Regions from separate parts of the Homo sapiens genome. Here all the other regions are linked to region 1. The links are contacts of gene promoters, found by promoter capture Hi-C in human tissues and cell types (Jung and others, 2019). All regions are on one chromosome and are shown on one strand. The core of a region is centred on a gene start or on the middle of the fragment in contact, and the rest is flanking DNA. Distances in the headings are between cores, read along the strand shown. Region 1 holds the start of PAX9 (paired box 9). Region 2 overlaps SLC25A21 (solute carrier family 25 member 21). Region 3 overlaps LOC105370453 (a long non-coding RNA gene). Region 4 overlaps SLC25A21 (solute carrier family 25 member 21).

Region 1 (2,700 bases), core at 163-2,662:
TCTGTTAGGTAATTTTGAATTTAGAGTGCATCCTAACCATAGAAGTGGGAATCTGGAGATCTGTTCCTTTGCAGAAGCATGGCTGATCATAGTTTTTTCCTGGGTTCTTGCAACTTACTGACCTGAGATCTGGGACCAGTCAGCTTCTCTGGGTGTAGACCGCAGCCACACACATCCCTGGGGACTGTTGGGGAAGCAGCCTGAATCCTGTGTGCACAAGGAGCCTTCTGGATTGTCAAGTAGCAGTAACAGAGTTCACGACCCCAAGCAGTACAAACTCCCAAATTCACGAAAATATTTCTCTTCTTGTTTATTATTTTGATTCACATTCTCCACAACCCTAACTGCAAATATTAATAACTTTGGCTGCAAAAAAGCATACGGTACACTTTAGATTAGACTTACAGTGAATAAAAGTGAAAATTCAGAAGTAGGCAGAACGACAGGGCCTCTGGAGCTTAATGGAAGACGAGGGAATTACATCCATGTGCAGCGTCGGTGTCCACTGTCTTGGGACTAAGTCTCTTTCATATTTAAACAAAACTCTTTCGAGAGGGCTCGCTGGTTTGGAGAACCCTCACAAACGCTGCCACCGAGGGCCAGGGGCCCAGGACAGTGGCTGAATGTGGCAGAGCCTTGGGCTCCGTAGTGAGTGCCCCACGCACTGGCAATTGGTCGACTTGGGGCTGTGCGCTAGCGTTAGCCGCCTGTGGTTCAGTTCCCCGCACACGGCGTGGCCCGTGCCTCGAGCCTGTGTGGCTAGTGGTTGGCCGGTCCACCTGGACTGGGGGGTCGCCGCAGGAAGCTGGCGGTAGGAGGAACCTCCCTGGCCTTAACAGTGGCCCCCACCTGTGGCTCGGGCTCCCCGCAACCTCCTGGTTTCTTTGGCCGGCCTATCTTCTCACACCTGCGCTCTCGCCACCTGGCATGGACTGAAGTGAGGTAGAATCGGCAGGTGACACAGATCCTCTCCTGACAGTCCCCAGAGGCCCGCATGACAGATTTTGCTAAGACAACTCCCTCACCCCTGTGCACGGTGGCGCCCGCCTCCCACCTATAGCCTTAACTTCAATTCTGAGATGTCCATCGTTCCCCGGAGGAGGTCTCCTCGGGCCCCTTCTCCCTTCGAGTCATTCACATTCAGACCAAACGCTTTCATTTGTTTATTCAGCATTTTACCAGCCTGATTTTGCTGTCTTTTTGTGCCGCTTCTGGGAAGATGTCAAACACCCATTTTCATTGTATTTAGTCACCCAGGTGGGGAGCTAGCCTGAAAGAGACAGCGGAAGGAGTTTCCTGGACTGCGCTGTCGCTCACCGACCCGCACCAATCACCATGCAGCTTGCCCTCGGACCCGCCCCTTTTAGGGCGTGTCCCCAGTGAGTGATAGACGGAGCCGCCCTGCCCTGCTCAGCCCAGCCCACGTTGCTGCTTAGATTGAAATGCAGAACTCAAGCCTCTTTCATCGGGGCACAGACTTCCTTTTACTTCTTCCTTTTGCCCTCTCGCCTCCTCCTCCTGGGAAGAAGCGGAGGCGCCGGCGGTCGGCCGGGATAGCAACAGGCCGGGCCACTGAGGCGGTGCGGAAAGTTTCTGTCTGGGAGTGCGGAACTGGGGCCGGGTTGGTGTACTGCTCGGAGCAATGGGTGAGTGGCGGCGGGGGACTCTGTCAGAGCCGGGAAGGGAGGGAGGGAGCGAGCGGGCAAGGGAGGGAGGGAGGGAGGGAGCGCGAGGGCGCGCGCCACTAGGCGCTCACATTCTCTATTGACTTTGCTCGTGTTCCTACAAGTTGTAGGAACACGCTAAGGGTCAGCGGCGCACAGCAGTTCAATGTGAACGCTGGCTACTGGGTGGCTGTTGATGCCATTTTCTGATTTTAAGAGAAGGGAGCTGTGGCATCAGCGAGCCCCTCAGCCCGAGTAGCAAACCAAGTTTTGTTTCACACGCGCGCACACATGCAAACAAAACAGGAAAAGAAAAGAAAAGAAAACAAACAACAACAAATAAAACACCCTCTAGCTTCCCCTAGACTTTGTTTAACTGGCCGGGTCTCCAGAAGGAACGCTGGGGATGGGATGGGTGGAGAGAGGGAGCGGCTCAAGGACTTTAGTGAGGAGCAGGCGAGAAGGAGCACGTTCAGGCGTCAAGACCGATTTCTCCCCCTGCTTCGGGAGACTTTTGAACGCTCGGAGAGGCCCGGCATCTCACCACTTTACTTGGCCGTAGGGGCCTCCGGCACGGCAGGAATGAGGGAGGGGGTCCGATTGGACAGTGACGGTTTGGGGCCGTTCGGCTATGTTCAGGGACCATATGGTTTGGGGACAGCCCCAGTAGTTAGTAGGGGACGGGTGCGTTCGCCCAGTCCCCGGATGCGTAGGGAGGCCCAGTGGCAGGCAGCTGTCCCAAGCAGCGGGTGCGCGTCCCTGCGCGCTGTGTGTTCATTTTGCAGAGCCAGCCTTCGGGGAGGTGAACCAGCTGGGAGGAGTGTTCGTGAACGGGAGGCCGCTGCCCAACGCCATCCGGCTTCGCATCGTGGAACTGGCCCAACTGGGCATCCGACCGTGTGACATCAGCCGCCAGCTACGGGTCTCGCACGGCTGCGTCAGCAAGATCCTGGCGCGATACAACGAGACGGGCTCGATCTTGCCAGGAGCCATCGGGGGCAGCAAGCCCCGGGTCACTACCCCCACCGTGGTGAAA
Region 2 (2,700 bases), core at 198-2,697, 220 kb after region 1:
TGACAAACTTGCACTGGTTGCCCTCTATGTGTCTGGTATTGAGGATAGAGTCTAGTGAGGGGAACAAACAGACATATAAGAACAAATAGTAATGCATGGGAGGAGGTGCAATGCTCAGAGTTTATGGGAGCACCTCAGAGAGAGGCCCCTGACCTAGCATGGGAGCAGGTGAGGGGTAGGGAAGGGATTCAAGGCAGACAGAGGACAGCATGAGCATGAGGCATGGAGGAAAGATATTGCACAGAAAAAAGAAGAAAAGAGGCAAGAAGCACTTGAGCATTACAGCAGCCTAGGGTTGAAGGCAGGGTATGGCAAGAGATGAGGCTGGAAGTGTGCAGGTGAGGCTCAAGTTCATGTTTAGTCACTTCCACTTTATCCCATAGGCCACGAGGAGCCAGTGAAGGATTTTCTTTTTTTAATAGCTCTTGGTTGTTTTTTCTTATTACCAATGTACTCCATGTTTATTGAAGACATTTCGAGGAGTTGTAAGCAGAGGAGTGGTATTGACCTCTGCTAATGTGCTCTCCCAATAATCTAATCATCTTCTCCATTTAATCCCCGCAGTGCTCCCAATCACAGTTATTCACTTGCAAGTACAACAGCACTGATGTCCCAGCCCTCTCTCCATTGGTAAACAGTTTACCAGTAAAAACACCTTCTCTCATCATAGCATAGATGTCTTGGTGTCCCATGCACCTCTAGATTTGAGAGTCAATGGCCATCTATGAAACTACCTGCAAAACTGTGACATGGCCAAAAGGAAAATGGGACCTAAATGGTCAAATATAACATATTTGGTCCAGGATCTCTATGTGATTATTTATTCACTGTTATTTTTAGTCAAAACAAGTAATTTGTAGAATTTAAGTTAGTGATAAAATGCATTACAGGCAGAGAGAACAGAAATGTTGGAAATTATATGGAAGCTGTGACTTTAATCAGAGTTCAGAGTTAAATCTGGATTCACTCAGAGTGGGAATGGATGCTTGCTGTCCTCCACAGACAGCTAAAGACTGTGAGACCCTGATTATTATTTATGAAGATAACCATATAAATAGAATCAGATTAATCGTGTTACATAGGCCTAGAAGTGACCTCAAGAAACTGAGTGGTACCATGTGCTTATTGACAATTCTATGACCTACTATGAAGGCACAAACTAAATAATGAGCTAGTGAGCACAAATTTTAATAATTTCTCTATTCTCATAAAATTAAAAATCTAACATAGAAAAGAAGATGACTCTGAAATATCAGCTTCCATTTAATAATCCATCCTAATTGCGATTTTAAGACACTCTGATATCAAGACAAATAAGACCTAGAAGTATTGCTTTTACCAACCTGGCATTTATTACACTCACCAGCCACAGAGGAATTAAATGATTCAATCTCCCCTACTCATTCATGATATAAAAATTGTACTGCCAACCACCAACCATAGTAACACCTTCTCTGGGGAAAAAAGTTACAACTTCATAGTATTTGAGAAGGAATATGAAAAAAATACATAAGAACTTAAATATAAATTTAGATCAGTGCTTTTCTTAGACTCTCTAGCTGATTTTACATTTAAATTTGGTGTTTGATCTTAAAACCAGAAAAAAGTCATTTTAGAGATAAAATGTCTTCAAGTCATGCTTAATTTTAAATGGGCTGGACTATTTGTAACTTCCATTCATTTTGGGAATAAAAAGCAGAATCAAAACATAACCACATGACAGTATGAAAATAATTAGAAAAACATAAAACACATATTTTCTCAAATAACATACTACATTTCAGAAAGCTAAAAATGTTCCATATGTTATTTTTATTTCAGGCAACTGCTGATTTATCACAATAACAAGTAAACAAGAATTACTATTAGATTTGTTTAAACTAGACAAAATACTGATTTTATAAGGCTGAACATTATAAAAATTAGAAAAGCCCCAAAGCAGACTGATACTGTAAATTTAATATATTGTAAATGTTTTCATTGTTTCTGCAGATTCATGTCATGTTAGTGAGCATGACTATATCTCTAAGATTTGAATGAAACTGGTAATTTGACCCTACCACAGGCACAAAAATGCATGGGTTATCCCCTGAACTTTTACCTTGGGATAGCCCCTGGATGCCCTGGCCCTTGAACTGCCTCAAGTACATGCCTTCGCCTGAGCCAATATTGGGAAAAAATTAACACCACCATGTCATAAACCCTTCTCCCAGACTTCATCTTTTCTGAGAAGATCCCCTGGGCAGCCTGTTCAACCACAAAACTTGACTGATCATTAACACCACCCCCACCTTCCTCTGAAATAACCTGCACCACACTCTTTTCCAAAAAAAAAAAAGTACAAACATTGTCACACAATGATTAATCATGATTGGTGAGAGACCAGTTTCTTCTCAGTGTTCAATTCCTAGAACTTTTTCTTTACTCAGGAATGTTTTTCTTCCGTAAGGACACATGTACATATACTTCTGAGAATCCTACTAACCTTCAGATCTCAATTTAGGCAACCATTTTCCCAGAAATCCTGGGGCAAAGATGGTTAATTTTTCTCTTAGTAGGCATCCCCTCTTCTTCCTGGCCACTCAGAAAAAATATTGCATTTCCCAGCTTCTTTTGCTGCTCAGCATCACAATGTGACTAAGTTCTGGCCAAAGGGATGTAAGGGAAAGTGGTTTGAGCAACATCTGGGAAGTTTTTTAA
Region 3 (2,857 bases), core at 111-2,610, 130 kb before region 1:
GTTTTAAGTGTATATTCTTGAATGGGTGTTCTGAGTCCAGTAATAAAAAGTACATTATCTGACTATGCCTTTTTCAGATAATAATGATAAACTCTGGACAATACACACACACACACACACAAACACACACACAATTATTTGAAGGCACCAGAAAGTGGTCAAAAGAAGAAAGAAACTGAAGAAGTTTCTAGTCATAAATGGAACTACTCACTGGGTAAGAATTAAACTTACAAGGATATTCTACTGAGGACAATACTCATACCACAGAGCACAGGGCAAATAGAAGGTGAGCGAAAAAATCCAGTGTTTTTTATTTGAAGTGTGAGAGGATGGAGTCAGGGGCTGAAAGAATATCTGAAAGATTAAGGTAGGGAACTCCTAGAACAGAGGAATCTAGAGACTCTAAAATGTATTTTTCACAATGGCAGATTAAAATAAAAAATTACTAGGCATGTGAAGACATAGAAGATAATTTCCAAAATCAGAAGAGAATGCAGTCAATAGAAGCAAATCTCCAGGTTTGGAATTAGCAGAAAAGTACATTTAAAGAGGTATATATATATATATATTCGAAGACAAATTAAAATATGTCAATAACTGAACAAATTGGGGAACTCTATCAGAGAAATGGAAGCTATTTTAAAAATGAATTGAAAATTCTCTAAAGAGCTATAGCGTCTGAAATGGAAAAGAAAAATCTCTGGGATGAGCTGAAAGAAGATTGGCGACAGCAGAAGAGCCAACTTGAATATAGAATTTATCCAGTCTGAGAAGCAGAAGGAATAAAAATTAAAAACAAAAACAGCCCCAGTGATCTGTGGGACAATATCAAATGATCAGAAACATAAAGCAAATTTATTTTATGCCCTATTAGATCATTAAACACGCAGAGATCGGTCGGGCGCGGTGGCTCACTCCTGTAATCCCAACACTTTGGGAGGCTGAGGCGGGCGGATCACCTGAGGTCAGGCGTTCCAGACCAGCCTGGCCAACATGGCGAAACCCTGTCTCTACTAAAAATACAAAAATTAGCCGGGCATGATGGTGCATGTCTGTAATCCCAGCTACTCGGGAGGCTGAGGCAGGAGAATCGCTTGAACTCAGGAGGCGGAGGTTGCAGTGAGCAGAGATGGCGCCATTGCACTCTAGCCTGAATGACAAGAGTGAAACTCTGTCCCAAAAAAAGAAAAAAAACATGCAGAGATGAATTTTACATTTATAAATTATTTGTATCTTTCAGTGAATATTATTATTGTTGTTCGCATGGCCATCAAAATTTTTACCTCTGAATAAAGGCATTTCTTAACATTGGATTGGTTATAGCGTGGAAGAAATTCAATCACTCCACCAATGTTGTGGCAAATACCTCAAAAGCACGATCAGTCCTATCATTTATGGCTGCCTTGGTTAAGCTTCAAGAATAAAACTTAACACACTTCTAGACAATATACCTCAAAAGAGATTCTTCTACTTGCTTCACTAGCTAACCAAACAGAAATCATTATTGCTTGGCTTGGCTTCTCCTTCCAGCAGAAAATTAATCAACACCTTTGTTAAATATGCTGTATAGATTTCTCTTTTTTCTGGGGGAGTGGGGACACTGTTGTTAAAGTAAGTCATCTCACCTTGTTTTTCAGCTTCCTTTAGTTGAATCTCATATTTTTGAAATTCATGAAATGCTTCTTTCATCAGTTTGTCTAGATCTACTTTTTGTCTTGAAAGTCCAACTAAGAATTTTGTTTTCAGTATAACGGATATAACCATTAGTAACTCCACAGCGATCTGTCTGTATCTATATATTACTAGCTAGTTAATATTTCCCAACATATCTTAAACAAGAGAAAGAAATTCATAGAAGCCAGACACTCCTCCAATTATATTCTCTTCATATATGATTGTATCTCACAGGTTGGTTGCTATGGTATTTGATTCCTAGTTACCATGATACTATTAAGTGTTTGCTGCAGAATCTGCCATGCTTGGTCACAGAACTCAGTGAAAGTTCTATTAAAAGACTTATCAATTTGATGCCTGTTCAGTCAACGTCTTCCATTTTGTTGAGGCTGGAGAACCTCCAACAGAAGTTAAGCAAAGTTCAGTAGGTATTAAGCTGGGTCCTGCTTAAACTGGTGGACTTTATCAACCTGATGCATGCAACAGAAAGGAACAACTCTCATACATTTTAAAGCTGGGCTCATGGGTCCTTCCTGGTCATCATTAATGAGCCTTTATGTGAAAGTTAAAGCCCAAGCCCTAGAAGCACAGTATAGGTTGTACTTTATCTTGATATTCTGGTCAGCATCACATGATTTAATGGGAAAAAGACCTGTGGTTGGACTTTGAAACTGCAGCAATGTTGAGTTGACAGTTATTTCAAAATGATCCAGTTTATTCCACACAGTGTTTAATTATCAGATCTTGGAAGATTAATTATTTTAAGAGACTCGTAAACTGAGATAGACCTTAAGAAATTAGATAAAGAGGATATAACTCCATCAAGTGAGCTGGCAATGCCAAATTAGTGAATCTAATCATAAGCATCACAAGCTAAACTTAATGGTTGGCCTGGAAAGTCTCTGTTCCAGAAACCTCCAAGGTCACTTTGGACGTGAATACCACACTCCTACCATTGTACTCAGTTTACTGCCTTGACATTTGATTCTTATTTAATTTTTTTTTTTTTTATAGATGGAATCTCACCATGTTGCCAAGGCTGGTCTTGAACTCCTGTTGTTTTTCAACTTCCTTTAGTTGAATCTCATATTTTTGAAATTCATGAAAAATGAATTTCATGAATTCATGTTTTAATTCATTTCACTCAAGTGATCCTCCTGCCTCAGCTTCCTGAGTAACTGAG
Region 4 (2,700 bases), core at 43-2,542, 160 kb after region 1:
CTTTTCTGCTGCTCAGCTCAGCACTTCGGCTACCTCAGGATGGCCATTGCACAATTGCATGGCCCTGGTTCCAGATGGGCCTGTGAACAAGTCAGCAGATGGGCCAGGCAAGCACGTCCTATGTCTAGATATTCAGCCTTAGCCTTTCCTTCCCTTCTGTGGTCAGAGACCTCAGCTTTGCCTATGATGTCTGCATGCTCAGGTAATTCCCAGGTGGGTTTTCTGACAGCTTGTGCAAACGTGTATACAGAGTATGATGATTTCACAAGTCTAGGCACTTCACTCACTAGTTGCAATTTCTTTTTCTCTTTGTAGAACCAAATAGATAATATTTCCAATCTATTGTTCATTCAGTTAATAAGAGTTCTTGAATACAACTATTTATTATACACTCTACTATTTGGGGGCTTACAAAGAAATAAGAAAAAGCCCTGCCTTGTAGAAGCTTTCAGTAAAGTGAAAGAGATGTGCAAATAGATGATTACCATACACAAAAACTATTGTTTAGAAATAGTGTTTCAGAGTATCAGATGCTAGCACCACTCTTATTGGGGATGATCGGCTATTTATGGGTGGGAAATAGTACTTTGCAGAGACAATGGAAGGGAAAGGGAGAGGGGAAATAAAGAAAGACTATCTTGGAGCTACATATCTGCAATTAAACTTTACCCACAGATTTTAGAACAGGCAACAAGAAAGGGCAGTCCATGAAATCCTTGAGGAGTGCTTCACTTAGGAGCTGACTGTCTGATGAGTGATGCTGAGTTAATTACAACCAGGAGCGGCAACATCAAAATAACATCACAGGAGCAGAGTCCATAAACTGTGTTGCATGAGCAATGCAAAAGGATGGGCAGGCATGGTAACTGCTAATGCCCCAGTAAAGCCTCCCTTCCATTCTTAACTATGCTAAAGCAGTGAGAGGCCCCATTACACAGGCTAAGGCAAGAACAGTTGTCTCTTCTACTGTGTATCTCACATACATCATGTCTACGCTTTGCAGAGAAAGTACTTGCAGTATTTGGTTGCAGTATTTTGTTCCATTACACATGACTTATTCTGATCACAGAGTTATCAGTTCTTCTCAGGAATCTGTTTCAAGTTGATATAATTATAGTGCATTTTGGTCAATCATGTAAAACAGCAATTTCCTTCTTCCTCTGCTCTACATTTCAGCAACTTAAAAGGTTTCTCTCTTGGATTGAAGCTTTACATCAGCATGTTCCAAGCTGCATTTTCTGCTAACAAATTCTCTCTACTTAGGGAGACAATTTTCCAGTTACATAATACAACCCCTTGTAAAATTACAAAGGCAAAGCCACACCACTCTTGATTGCATTTAGAAGACAGGGTTGGACTTCTCCATTGTCCTAATAAAAGCAGCTTAAATACATCTGGAATATCCATCTGAGTAACTTCTTTTATTAGGATGGAAACTTGCTGCCACACTGACAGAGTGGACAATGAAGTAACACTTGGGACATATTTGGTGCTTAACATCCGATCAGAATCACACACAACAGAAAGGAATGTGGCTCAAACCCTAGGCTGCATTGCAAAGGAGCCAGATACCTATCTGCCGCTGTTCTCATAGCCAAAGGACTGCACACACTTAACAAATGGGAGGAAACAGGCCCTGTCATTCACCAGCCACAATACTGAGTGAGTTACTGTGGTAGCCAACAGGGTAAGGAAGGGCTTTTCAATGTTCCCAAACAAATGTACAAGCATATTTTTTAAAGACAAAAAATGTTTGCACTAATTGAAGCATTTTTTTTTTCTAAATTAGCTGAGAATCATGACTGCAGCATTTCGCACTGTCTTCATTGTGTGCTCAGTGATATTCTATTTTAAACTAGTCTGTGACTCAGTCTCAGCATAGATATACCACTTCCACTTGTTTGAGTACTTCTGAAGATATGGCCAAAAGAAAGATATGCCTGTAAGAAATAAAATGGCTTTGCTGCCTTAAAAGTCTCAAGACAAGGGTGTTTGAAAATTATAAAATCTCAAATTTATGCAGTGCCTTTATTTCCAAAGTAATTTTACATCTATCATCTTCTTAACAAATACTGAACGAGTCTATTCTGGGGAGTGGAGGCTTTAGAAATATATTTGTACACTATACACTATATATGCATATATAGTATATATACATATATAACTTACATATTATACATTTGGTGCAAAAGTAATCGTGGTTTTGGCCATTACTTTTAATGGTGCCTAACACCCAATCTTTTAATGGCCAAAACCGCACTTACTTTTGCACCAACCTAATATAACTTATATATTCCTATCTTTATATGAATATGCAGTAATTGAATTGCAAAGGGTTGGATTGGGGTAGATGATAGGATTTGTCCTGAGGCTACATTTGCATAGCACACGACTCTGCTTTTTAGTTAGATCATATGATTATTTGGGGTGCTTTGGGAGAGGGAACTGATGGAGACTGGCAGTGGGAAGCCATTCCAAGCCACCCCTTTGGCACTGCCACCAATCCCTAAGCAAACCAGTGAGATAGGTAAAGAGCATTTCTGGCATCACCCCTGGATCACTTCTTAGTTCAGTAGTGTTCCTGTGCTCTCTTCTGCCTTCTCCCATTCAGCTCTGCTTTTGGAAACACATTCACATCCATCATTCATCCTTATTGTGACTTTTACTTTAATGTGCCATCCGTCAAAATGTGTCCTCTCT

What was found. The method cuts DNA at HindIII sites, captures the fragments that hold promoters and counts their contacts. A contact is called where the count stands out against the background at its distance.
Region 2: a contact is called between a fragment that was not itself captured here and the fragment with the promoter of PAX9 in region 1, in 1 of the 25 tissues and cell types used here (small bowel).
Region 3: a contact is called between a fragment that was not itself captured here and the fragment with the promoter of PAX9 in region 1, in 1 of the 25 tissues and cell types used here (pancreas).
Region 4: a fragment that was not itself captured here is called in contact with the fragment with the promoter of PAX9 in region 1 in 3 of the 25 tissues and cell types used here (H1 embryonic stem cells, pancreas and thymus).

The regions. Positions count from the first base shown.
Region 1 is chr14:36,660,448-36,663,147 of GRCh38, forward strand. It overlaps PAX9 (paired box 9), which reads left to right and starts at 1,413. Exons shown (of 4, transcript NM_001372076.1): 1 at 1,413-1,646; 2 at 2,450-2,700. The coding sequence starts at 1,643. RefSeq lists a promoter at 147-1,344, a cis regulatory region at 604-1,116 and enhancers at 1,881-2,392, 2,393-2,700. The HindIII fragment of the contact is 9,466 bases long and covers 1-1,497 here.
Region 2 is chr14:36,877,493-36,880,192 of GRCh38, forward strand. The region is part of intron 1 of SLC25A21 (solute carrier family 25 member 21); the gene reads right to left. Among named protein-coding and RNA genes, the nearest start is that of MIR4503, 74 kb to the right of the region's middle. The HindIII fragment of the contact is 6,338 bases long and covers 1-2,700 here.
Region 3 is chr14:36,532,026-36,534,882 of GRCh38, forward strand. All of the region lies in intron 1 of LOC105370453 (a long non-coding RNA gene), which reads left to right. It also overlaps the pseudogene PHKBP2. Among named protein-coding and RNA genes, the nearest start is that of NKX2-1, 13 kb to the left of the region's middle. The HindIII fragment of the contact is 3,563 bases long and covers 1-2,857 here.
Region 4 is chr14:36,817,617-36,820,316 of GRCh38, forward strand. All of the region lies in intron 2 of SLC25A21 (solute carrier family 25 member 21), which reads right to left. Among named protein-coding and RNA genes, the nearest start is that of MIR4503, 130 kb to the right of the region's middle. The HindIII fragment of the contact is 4,329 bases long and covers 1-2,700 here.